3 separate regions of the Homo sapiens genome follow, and all the other regions are linked to region 2. Evidence: promoter capture Hi-C in human tissues and cell types (Jung and others, 2019). All regions are on one chromosome and are shown on one strand. Each heading gives the region's core, a stretch centred on a gene start or on the middle of the fragment in contact. The rest is flanking DNA. Distances are from core to core; before and after follow the strand shown. Region 1 holds the start of LOC124902633 (a long non-coding RNA gene). Region 2 holds the start of CSNK2A3 (casein kinase 2 alpha 3). Region 3 overlaps GALNT18 (polypeptide N-acetylgalactosaminyltransferase 18).

The links. Contacts are between HindIII fragments. The study calls those that stand out against the background at their distance.
Region 1: a contact is called between a fragment that was not itself captured here and the fragment with the promoter of CSNK2A3 in region 2, in 2 of the 25 tissues and cell types used here (liver and pancreas).
Region 3: a fragment that was not itself captured here is called in contact with the fragment with the promoter of CSNK2A3 in region 2 in 4 of the 25 tissues and cell types used here (IMR-90 fibroblasts, hippocampus, mesendoderm cells and 1 more).

The regions. Positions count from the first base shown.
Region 1 is chr11:11,295,604-11,298,500 of GRCh38, forward strand. The region is part of intron 9 of GALNT18 (polypeptide N-acetylgalactosaminyltransferase 18); the gene reads right to left. It overlaps LOC124902633 (a long non-coding RNA gene), which reads left to right and starts at 1,777. Exons shown (of 3, transcript XR_007062596.1): 1 at 1,777-1,828; 2 at 2,284-2,308. The HindIII fragment of the contact is 5,230 bases long and covers 1-2,897 here.
Region 2 is chr11:11,351,560-11,354,589 of GRCh38, forward strand. It overlaps CSNK2A3 (casein kinase 2 alpha 3), which reads right to left and starts at 1,691. Exons shown (of 1, transcript NM_001256686.2): 1 at 383-1,691. The coding sequence starts at 1,560. The coding sequence ends at 385. All of the region lies in intron 6 of GALNT18 (polypeptide N-acetylgalactosaminyltransferase 18), which reads right to left. The HindIII fragment of the contact is 7,765 bases long and covers 1-3,011 here.
Region 3 is chr11:11,318,651-11,321,518 of GRCh38, forward strand. All of the region lies in intron 9 of GALNT18 (polypeptide N-acetylgalactosaminyltransferase 18), which reads right to left. Among named protein-coding and RNA genes, the nearest start is that of CSNK2A3, 33 kb to the right of the region's middle. The HindIII fragment of the contact is 7,313 bases long and covers 1-2,868 here.

The DNA.
Region 1 (2,897 bases), core at 153-2,652, 56 kb before region 2:
GAAATGTTCCATAACGTCAGCCTCTCAGGGTGGAGGGAGGTGGGTGGAGAGTGTGTCTGGAGGGAGGAGCAGAAGACGCTCATTACAGCTAAGATCTGCTCTCTGTGGTCACTTTACAAGTTATCAAGCTTGGCAAATCCATGGTAATTGATATCAAAATGACTAAAATGACTGAGTTTTTCTATAACAAAGGTGAAGGATTCACTGTGACCAAAGTTCTGAGCAGAGGCCAAATGTGGGATGTCCAGCTTTGATGTGGAAATGTAACCAGAACAAGAGGCAAGGGGAGCCTCTTCAAAGCTATCCTGGGCAAGAGGTGGTTTGCTCATCAGAATCCTGAGACTGTCCATTGTGTGGCCTGGATTTCCAGGTCACCACCGAAGAAAGCTGATGTCCTGTGGCTTCTAGTTTATTGGAGTTGAGGGAGAACTTGGCAACTGGTAGGATGGAGAAAATTAAACAGCCATAGAGTTAGACATCACACCCATACCTCTATTCAACTAACAAGTAATCTCTAAGTTGGGATCTAGGACTACAGAAATGAGAAAAGCCATGGTCCCTGTCCTGGAGAAGCCATGCCGCATTAGGGAAACCAACAACATATCAGGAAACAATGACCCCAATCACATGAATATGAGAAGTGCCCCTGCTTCTTGTACTCACCTACCCCAACTCTTACTACTTTGAAAATAGAAACGAGAACCCACCATATCCAGAAAGACTGCCCTGAATATTCAACTGTGTGGAGCCTCAGCCTGCCACCTGGGCCTCTCACCAAAAGGTGCACACCTGTTTATACCCCTGGGTTGAATGCACTGTGACCTCCTTAGGACACTGTAGCTCTTAATCTCCCTGCATGCCAGGACCCAGATTTCCTGAGGTTTGGGGATGTGGGCTGTGAGACAAGGACAGCCAGGGAGCCAGTCATTCCCATGTTTTTCTTCTTCTGTCATCAAAGCCTGGTTCTTGTCTCTGGAGCAGACTTGGCAGACACAAGTGGCTACTCAGGTAACAGCTGAAATCAGTTTTATCCACTTAGCTGCTCTGAAGAGTTTAGGGAGATGCTGGGAGAGACGTGTGCACTTACTATCTGGTACAGCTGTCATCAGAGCTGTTTATTGCTCCAGAGTCTGGGAAAATCATAATGGGGCAGACGATTGTTATTTAAAAACAAAACAACAAAGTGCCTCTTGACTGGCGTAATCACAAGGCTGGCAGATCACAGAGGGAGGTTCGGCAAAGAGGATTTTCTCAAGTCCTCACATGGACATCTCAGAAGCCCAGCCTAGCGGATTAAATAAACAAATTGCTCGAACACAAAAAAGGTGTTCAAGATGCCCTACCTTCAGTGCCTGCAGTCCCAGCAAGCATAGCTAAGCTTTCTGAGCAATGGGGACTCTGGAACGTTTAAGGCAAAAAGTGACTTAGAACGATGGTCCTCAGTGGAGGAATGTTATAAACCAGGGGCTATCTGGAATGCCTGGAGACATTTTTGGTTGTCATGATGGTGGGGGTGGTAGGAGGTGTCTAGTGGCTGGTCTGGGATCCCACTCAACATCCTAAGTGCACAGGACAGCCCCCCACAGCAAAGAATTATCTAGCCAAAATGTCAGTAGTGCCGCTGTTGAGATACCCCAACTTAAGGTATAATAAAAGCTAACATGTTTTTACCTCTTACACTGTGCCAGACATGAAATGACTTACATGCTTTATCTTGTTTAATCTTAGCAATAACTCATGAGGCAGGTACTAATATTATCCCTTACCTTACAGACGAGAAAGCTGAGGCACGGAGACCATAAGCAATGTTTCCAAAGTCGCACGGTTGGTGAGTAGCTGAGATTTACAGCGAGGCAGTTTAACTCCAGAGCCATATGTGCGACCACTCACCTCCCTTGCCCACCTCCCTGGGGTCACTCCAGCTCCAGCCTCCAGGCTGGGAGGGGCAGGGGGAGCCGGGAGAGGACTTCCACTGTGATCCCTTCCAACCATGATGGGGGCCTGGACTAAGACAGTACCAGAGAGCTGGAGGAGCCTAGAATAAAAGATGCTACAAAGTTCTGAGACAGCAGCATCCCTCCTGTAACTCTGGTCTGAGGCTGGGGTGAGCTGTTATCCTGCCTGTGGACGTCTTACAAACCCCCGGGGCAGAGAAACGTCATCCCCGCCCACTCAGCTCCTCCTCAGCTGCCAATGATTGATTTGGCTCATTCTCTACTCAGCTCTACACAGCTCAGCAGGGCTGCAAACCAGATCTCCAGCATTTCATTTTGATTCTTGCAGGAGGAAGAGCAAAATCACCTGCAAGGTAAAACAATCAACACATCCGTATCCTGGATCTTACGCTAGTGGCATTTTCCTCTCCTCCAGGCCAGGGGTAGGAGCCATGACTGAGAGCTAACAGCTGGCCAGGGAGACCACAGAACTCTGGTTGCACATTCCTGCCTTTAGAGCCACAGAGTCGAGGCTGGGTAACGTCCCCCAGGGCCGGAGGTTCTCCTGACTCTGTCCCTCACCTTGGGGCAAGGGCCCCCATCCTGCAGGATACCCTGGTCTCAGAGCCTGGCCTCTAGCCCTCCAAAGAAGCCACCCCTCACATGTGTCAAGCCTCACCTGGCTGATGGAAACTCTGCCACAGCTTCAGGAAGGGAAGGAAGAGAAGAAAACACACATAGTTTTGTGCGCCTAGCAGTCCTCTGCTAGGTGTTTTCCATGCCCGTGGCTACTGCCACTTTTAAGGATAAGGAAACTGAGGCTATGAGAGTTTTAAAAACTTGTGAAGACACTCAGGTAGGCAGTTGCTCTCTCCCCTCCTTGCCTAGGGAGAAGTCCTGAGCAAGGCTGAGTTCTGGCAGCTCAGGGCCTGTGGCCCCTTACCCATTCCTTGGAGGGGCTCT
Region 2 (3,030 bases), core at 441-2,940:
GGAACCAAAACCCTATAGAAGCCCCAAACTCAGAGACAGAAGTATTAGCAAGTTCCAAATCAGGGTCCCATTGACACCTGCGCTATCTACTGTAATCACTTCTTTGTTTTGAAATAGGATCTCTGGCCCCCATTACTGTCACTGGTGCTGCCAGAGAATGACAATGAGCTTAAATGTCATAGGGATTTGGGGAGCAATTTTCTTTTTTTTTTTTTTCAGCCTATTATAATTTTTTTTTATGACTGAACTACTATAAATCCACAAGCAACGGTTCAGACACGTTGCTTCTGAAGTGTTTCACCCCTCCCCGCCAGGCGCAAGCTGCATCAAGGAGGGGGTGGACTCCCCCACCTCTGCTCAGGCATCAGGAGACAGATAGGGCCGTTACTGCTGAGCGCCAGTGGCAGCTGGAACAGGCATCCCAAGGGGGTTGGCAGCAGCAATCACTGGTGAGCCTGCCAGAGGTCCAAGGGGTGAAGGAGTTGGCACTGAAGAAATCCCTGACATCACATTGGCGCTGCTGACGGGCGTACTGCCCCCTGGCATGCTAGATGAACCCATTCGAGCCTGGTCCTTCACAACAGTGTAGAAATAGGGGTGCTCCATGGCCTCTCTTGCAGTAAGCCGTGACTGGTGGTCATATCGCAGCAGTTTGTCCAGGAAATCCAAGGCCTCAGGGCTGACAAGGTGCTGATTTTCACTGTGGACAAAGCGTTCCCATCGCTTTCGAGAGTGTCTGCCCAAGATATCATTGAAACGTGGATCTAATTCAATGTTGTATTTGTCAATATAGCCATATAAATCTTCTGTCCCCAGAAACTTGGCTATCCTCACCAACTGATCATAATTGTCACGTCCATGGAAAAATGGCTCCTTCCGAAAGATCATACTTGCCAGCATACAACCCAATCTCCACATATCCAAACTATAATCGTACATCTGATAGTCTACAAGTAGCTCAGGACCTTTGAAGTATCGGGAAGCAACTCGGACATTATATTCTTGGCCAGGATGATAAAACTCAGCCAAACCCCAGTCTATTAGTCGTAGCTTTCTGTGCTCATGATCAATCATGACATTATGGGGCTTGACATCTCTGTGCATAATTCCCATGCTGTGACAATAATCCAGGGCCTTCAGAATCTCATACATGTAAAATCGAATATCATAGTCTGTTAACGTCTGGTACAATTGCTTGAAGTCTGTGTTGTTTACGTGTTCAAAAACCAAGGCGGGGGTTCGTGACACAGGGTCTTTTACAATGTCTGCCAGTGTGATGATGTTGGGACCTCCTCTCAAATTCTCCAAAATCTTTATTTCACGCTTAATTTTCTTCTTTTTTACTGGCTTGAGAATTTTAACAACAACTTTTTCATTATTTGTGATGTTGATGGCTTCAAATACTTCACTGTATTTACCTCGGCCTAATTTTCGAACCAGCTGGTAGTCATCTTGATTTCCCCATTCCACCACATGTGACTCGTAATCCCAGTATTCTCGAGGTCTGTGTGTATTAACATCTGTGTAAACTCTGGCCCTGCTTGGCACGGGTCCCGACATGTCAGACAGGTTGGCGGACAAAGCTGGACTTGATGTTTGGAGATCTGGCAGTCACTGTGTTCAGAAGCAGCTTGGGGGTAAGACCTTGTTTCAGACCTGTTTTCTTCACACTGTGGTGGAAGCGGCAGCGGCTGTGGCCGCTCTCCCTTCTGCTCACACAGACAATATGGCGGCGATGGAGTGGGGAGCAATTTTCTAAAATCCAAATAAAAACCTTCCCATCTCTAATCTGAGAGTCATTTTTATCAGCTAACTGGGCTCATCTATTTACTCAGCATATTCAGAGCCCTTTTTGGGGGTTAAGTCCCTTTCAATTGCTGTGAGGCACCGTCTCCTTGTGGACATGCTTGTGCTATCCAGCTGCTATTCAAAGCACATCTCCTGGACCATGTTTAATTTATACTTTCCTATATGAAGATGAACCACTTACTCACTTAAAGTATTTCTTTTTTTATGTCTCTAATCAGTGGCTGTTTCTTTCCTCTCTCTGAAGCTTAATCGAATCAGAAACAAATCCCACACATATGAATGGCTCATTAGCATGTCCCAGTCAGATTCAAATTGGCCGTCCATACCAGATGCCCCCAAAAGGATAACACTGGCCCAAAGAAGGACTCTTTAAACGAGTGTCCAAAGGGTGTTGCCATGATAAGCCAGGAGGGTTCTTTCTGAAATCCAGGGTAGATACACTCTGTCATTCCCAGCACCATAGAGCCAACTGATGGCAGGTAATGGATGTGTCATTGAGATGGGGTTGGTGGGAGGCAATGTGGCCAAGCCTGGGGAGCAGACATCAGAGGAATGTCTGGTGTCTATGTGTCTGGCTCAAGCATCATCCTCACACTTGGCTCAGTGGGGCCCTTTTATCAAATGATACAAATGAGGCTGAGATGCTGAACATTCTCTCGCTCAGAAATGATATTTGTTCTAAAGAGCTTCCCCTCTTAATCAAATGAAACTCAGATTATAAACACTGGTATGCTACATCTTCTCTTAAAGGATTTGCTCTTTTCATAGACATCAGAATGAATCGTCAGCATGGGCATCATCACTGGTGTCATCTCTGAAAGTCACCGATAGCAAACTCTCATTTAATACAGATTTACAAAAGAGATCAGCATACTGCAATAGAGTAGAACTGAAGGGAACCTAACCAGGACCTCCCTTCATTTCCCAGGTGAGCAAACTAAGGTTCAGGGTCACAGGATAATTTAGAAGCACAGTAAGATATGGATCCAAGAGCCTGCCTTTTGGAAGACAGGAAGTCATTATGGTTCAGAGCATAGCCTCTGGGGCCAAACAGTCTTGGTGTCAAGTCCTACATTTCCCATTTGCTGAACTGGTGACTTTAGGCAATTCACTTCACCTTCCAACACTCAGTTTCCTTGTCTATGAAATGGAGATAAAAGTGATAAATTCCAAAGATAGTTGCTGTGAGAATTAAATGAAGTAATACACAGAGACAGTTTA
Region 3 (2,868 bases), core at 234-2,733, 33 kb before region 2:
AGATGGTCAGGCTGTGACCCATAAGAGTCACTGAGTCACTAGTGGCCTGGAGTGTCCCTCGACCTTCAACAAACTTTGTGAAAAGAGTAAGAAAAATACCTGAAACCTAGAAATAAGGCAAAAACAAAGAGGGGAAGTGGCCTGTCCTTTTAATATTATCCTGGGACATTAACGGGCCCATCCAAGAGTATGTAATTTTCCAAGAGAATGTACTCATGCTTGACTTTGCTATTTACCTTTTGATTCTCTCTCAGACACTATGAAGTTGTATGCTAACTCCTAGATTTCTGTCTGTGTAGAAAAGATCACATGAAAGGCTATAATTTTATTTCCCCATAGGACATGAACCACTTTTGCATTTAATCTCTCCATTTTATTTTGACGTTTTTCTTTAGAAAATGTCTACAGATACTCAGTTCCTCAAATGCACTCAGTACTTGCTTAACCGTCTTACTTAGAAAATGCCTACAGATACTCAGTTCCTCAAATGCACTCAGTACTTGCTTAACCGTCTTACAAAGTCAGCAAGATGAACGGGGCCAGCCTGCAGTCCTGCCTTCTTGCCCTTCTTACACCTTCACCATTCTTGGCCATTGCTGGCTGAAATCCAAGTCATGAAGCTCAAATGTTGCCCCATATGCAATGCTCAAGAGAGAAACAAGTTCAAATCTTGGCTGTGGTGAAGATTTGAAGATTAGAAAATAGAGAATAGTCTGTTGCTAGCACCAGAATATAGCTTCACAAGGACAGTCACTTTTTTTCTGGTTCATCCATTTCCCAGGGCCAAGAACAGTATCTGGCACATGAATGCTGTTCATAAAAAAGGAGCAATTTGGACACAGACACACACATGGAGAATGTCATGTGAAGGGTGGAGTTATGCTGCTACAAGCCGTTACCTTGATTTGGACAAGGTAATGAATTAAAAAGTCATAGAATTCCAGGGTGCAAGAGCCCTTAGGAATTTCTTAGCTTAAGAGCCTACATGGTATAAAAATCCTTCAGAATGTCCCTGGAGCCTGCCAAACATGGCTCAGTGCTGATGACGGAGATGTCAAAATAACCTGAGCCAATGATTGGGAAGAGTTTCCTCATGCTCAGCCAAAAATCTGCATCCTTATACTTTGGAAGGAGTTTTAACGTCCCCCTTAAATCTGTTCTCTTTTTAAGCTAAACAATTCCTACTCTATTAACTCAAGGACATGGTCTAGAGTGTCTTTACCAATCTGGTAATAGTAATAATAGCCAACATTTAGTAAGCGATGACTGTGTACCAGATTTTGTTCTCTAAACGCTTTATGTGCATTGATTTATTTAATCCTTATAACAACTCCACAAAGTTAGTACTACTATATTCTCTCTTATGCTGCTACAAGCCAAGGGACCACCAACCACCAGCCAATTTCATTACAGGCAATAAAATTGAGGCATGAGGAGACACTCACCTAAGAGACTCAGTTAGTAAGTGGCATGGCTGGGATTTGAACCCATATAGTCTGGTTCTTAATCACTATATATTGCCTCAGAAATTGTCTTTCAGCATTTTCAGGCTTCCTATCAAGTGTGATGCTTAGGGAGGAATATGTAAGTTTTCATAGAAGAGGTCAGAAATACCGTTACCCTGGCTTGGTCTATATTCCCTAGGCAACAATGTAAAGTGCCACCTCCATCTCCTGCAGTTGTACAGTGCACAACCTGCACAATGGCATGTGACAGTTCCATCCGTGCATACACGACCTTCCCAAAGCTCTCCTTGTCCTATGTGGCCATGGTAACAATAAAGATCTTGCTGAGAACTGCCAGTAGGAGGGGGTGACATCCCTGGAAATGCATGTTGAATGTTTGATTTGGACCAAGTCTGTAGGATTCAGAGGATCTTTGGGGTCCTCACCTGTCCACAGTCTCCTTCTGAGATGTACCCTGACTTCATTCTCAGGTAACACGTCCTAGAGTACCCCTTTTCTTACTCTTCCATGAGCAGTGAACTTCTTGCGGGCTGGAAGATGACTTTGGGAAGCCTTGCCAGACAGCAGCCCCTTACCTTTCACTCATCCCCTGCCCCTGCGTTCATCATGGGTGGATGTAGGAGCTCAGGCTGGGAATACCCAGCCCGTCCCCAGGATAACCTTGTCCTTTCCAGCTCTCCCAGCTCACTGGGCAGGCCACAGCCTCAACAGAGTCCTGCCACAGCAGCATCCCTACCCCTTCCTGGGAAATGTGTGTAATCTGAGGCTGGTCCCAAACCTCCCTACACAGCACTGCTAGTTGTGCATCTGAGCATGGCCTGGCGTGAAAGGTCACCAGGACACCAAGGGCTCCCTGTACAGCCCAGCTGCATGAGTGTTCTGTGGCTTTGGGGGATGAGGAAGGGAGACCCAACCCTTTGAGACTTGCTGCAGCTTCACATCAAGAAGCTTATTTACAAAGGCAGCTCCCAGCATTCCTGGCAAGCACAAATTCACAGTTTCCCACGCCAACTGAATTTCAAAACAAAGGAATTAGAGATAAGCAGATTGTCAGAGCTAGGAGTGTTGAGCCTAAAGAAGCCCAATCCAGCTTTATCATCTGCAGACAGAAATACAGGCTCAGATGAAACTCATCAATGGTGAGAGTGGTCAGAACCATCCTTACCTTTGGGTGGAGGTATGACCAAGAGGACAAATGAGGAAGCCTTCTGGAATGATGGGTTTGAACTTAATGGTGACTGTACAGTGTATACAAAGTTAAGAACTGTGCAGTTAAGATTCGTGTATTTTAGTATAAAATTCTACCTCAATAAAATAGTAAAACAAAATAAAGGCCCAGAGAAGATTAAGGTGATGTTGCAATTGTGTAGCAAGACAAACCCTTGAACTCAGGCATCCCAAT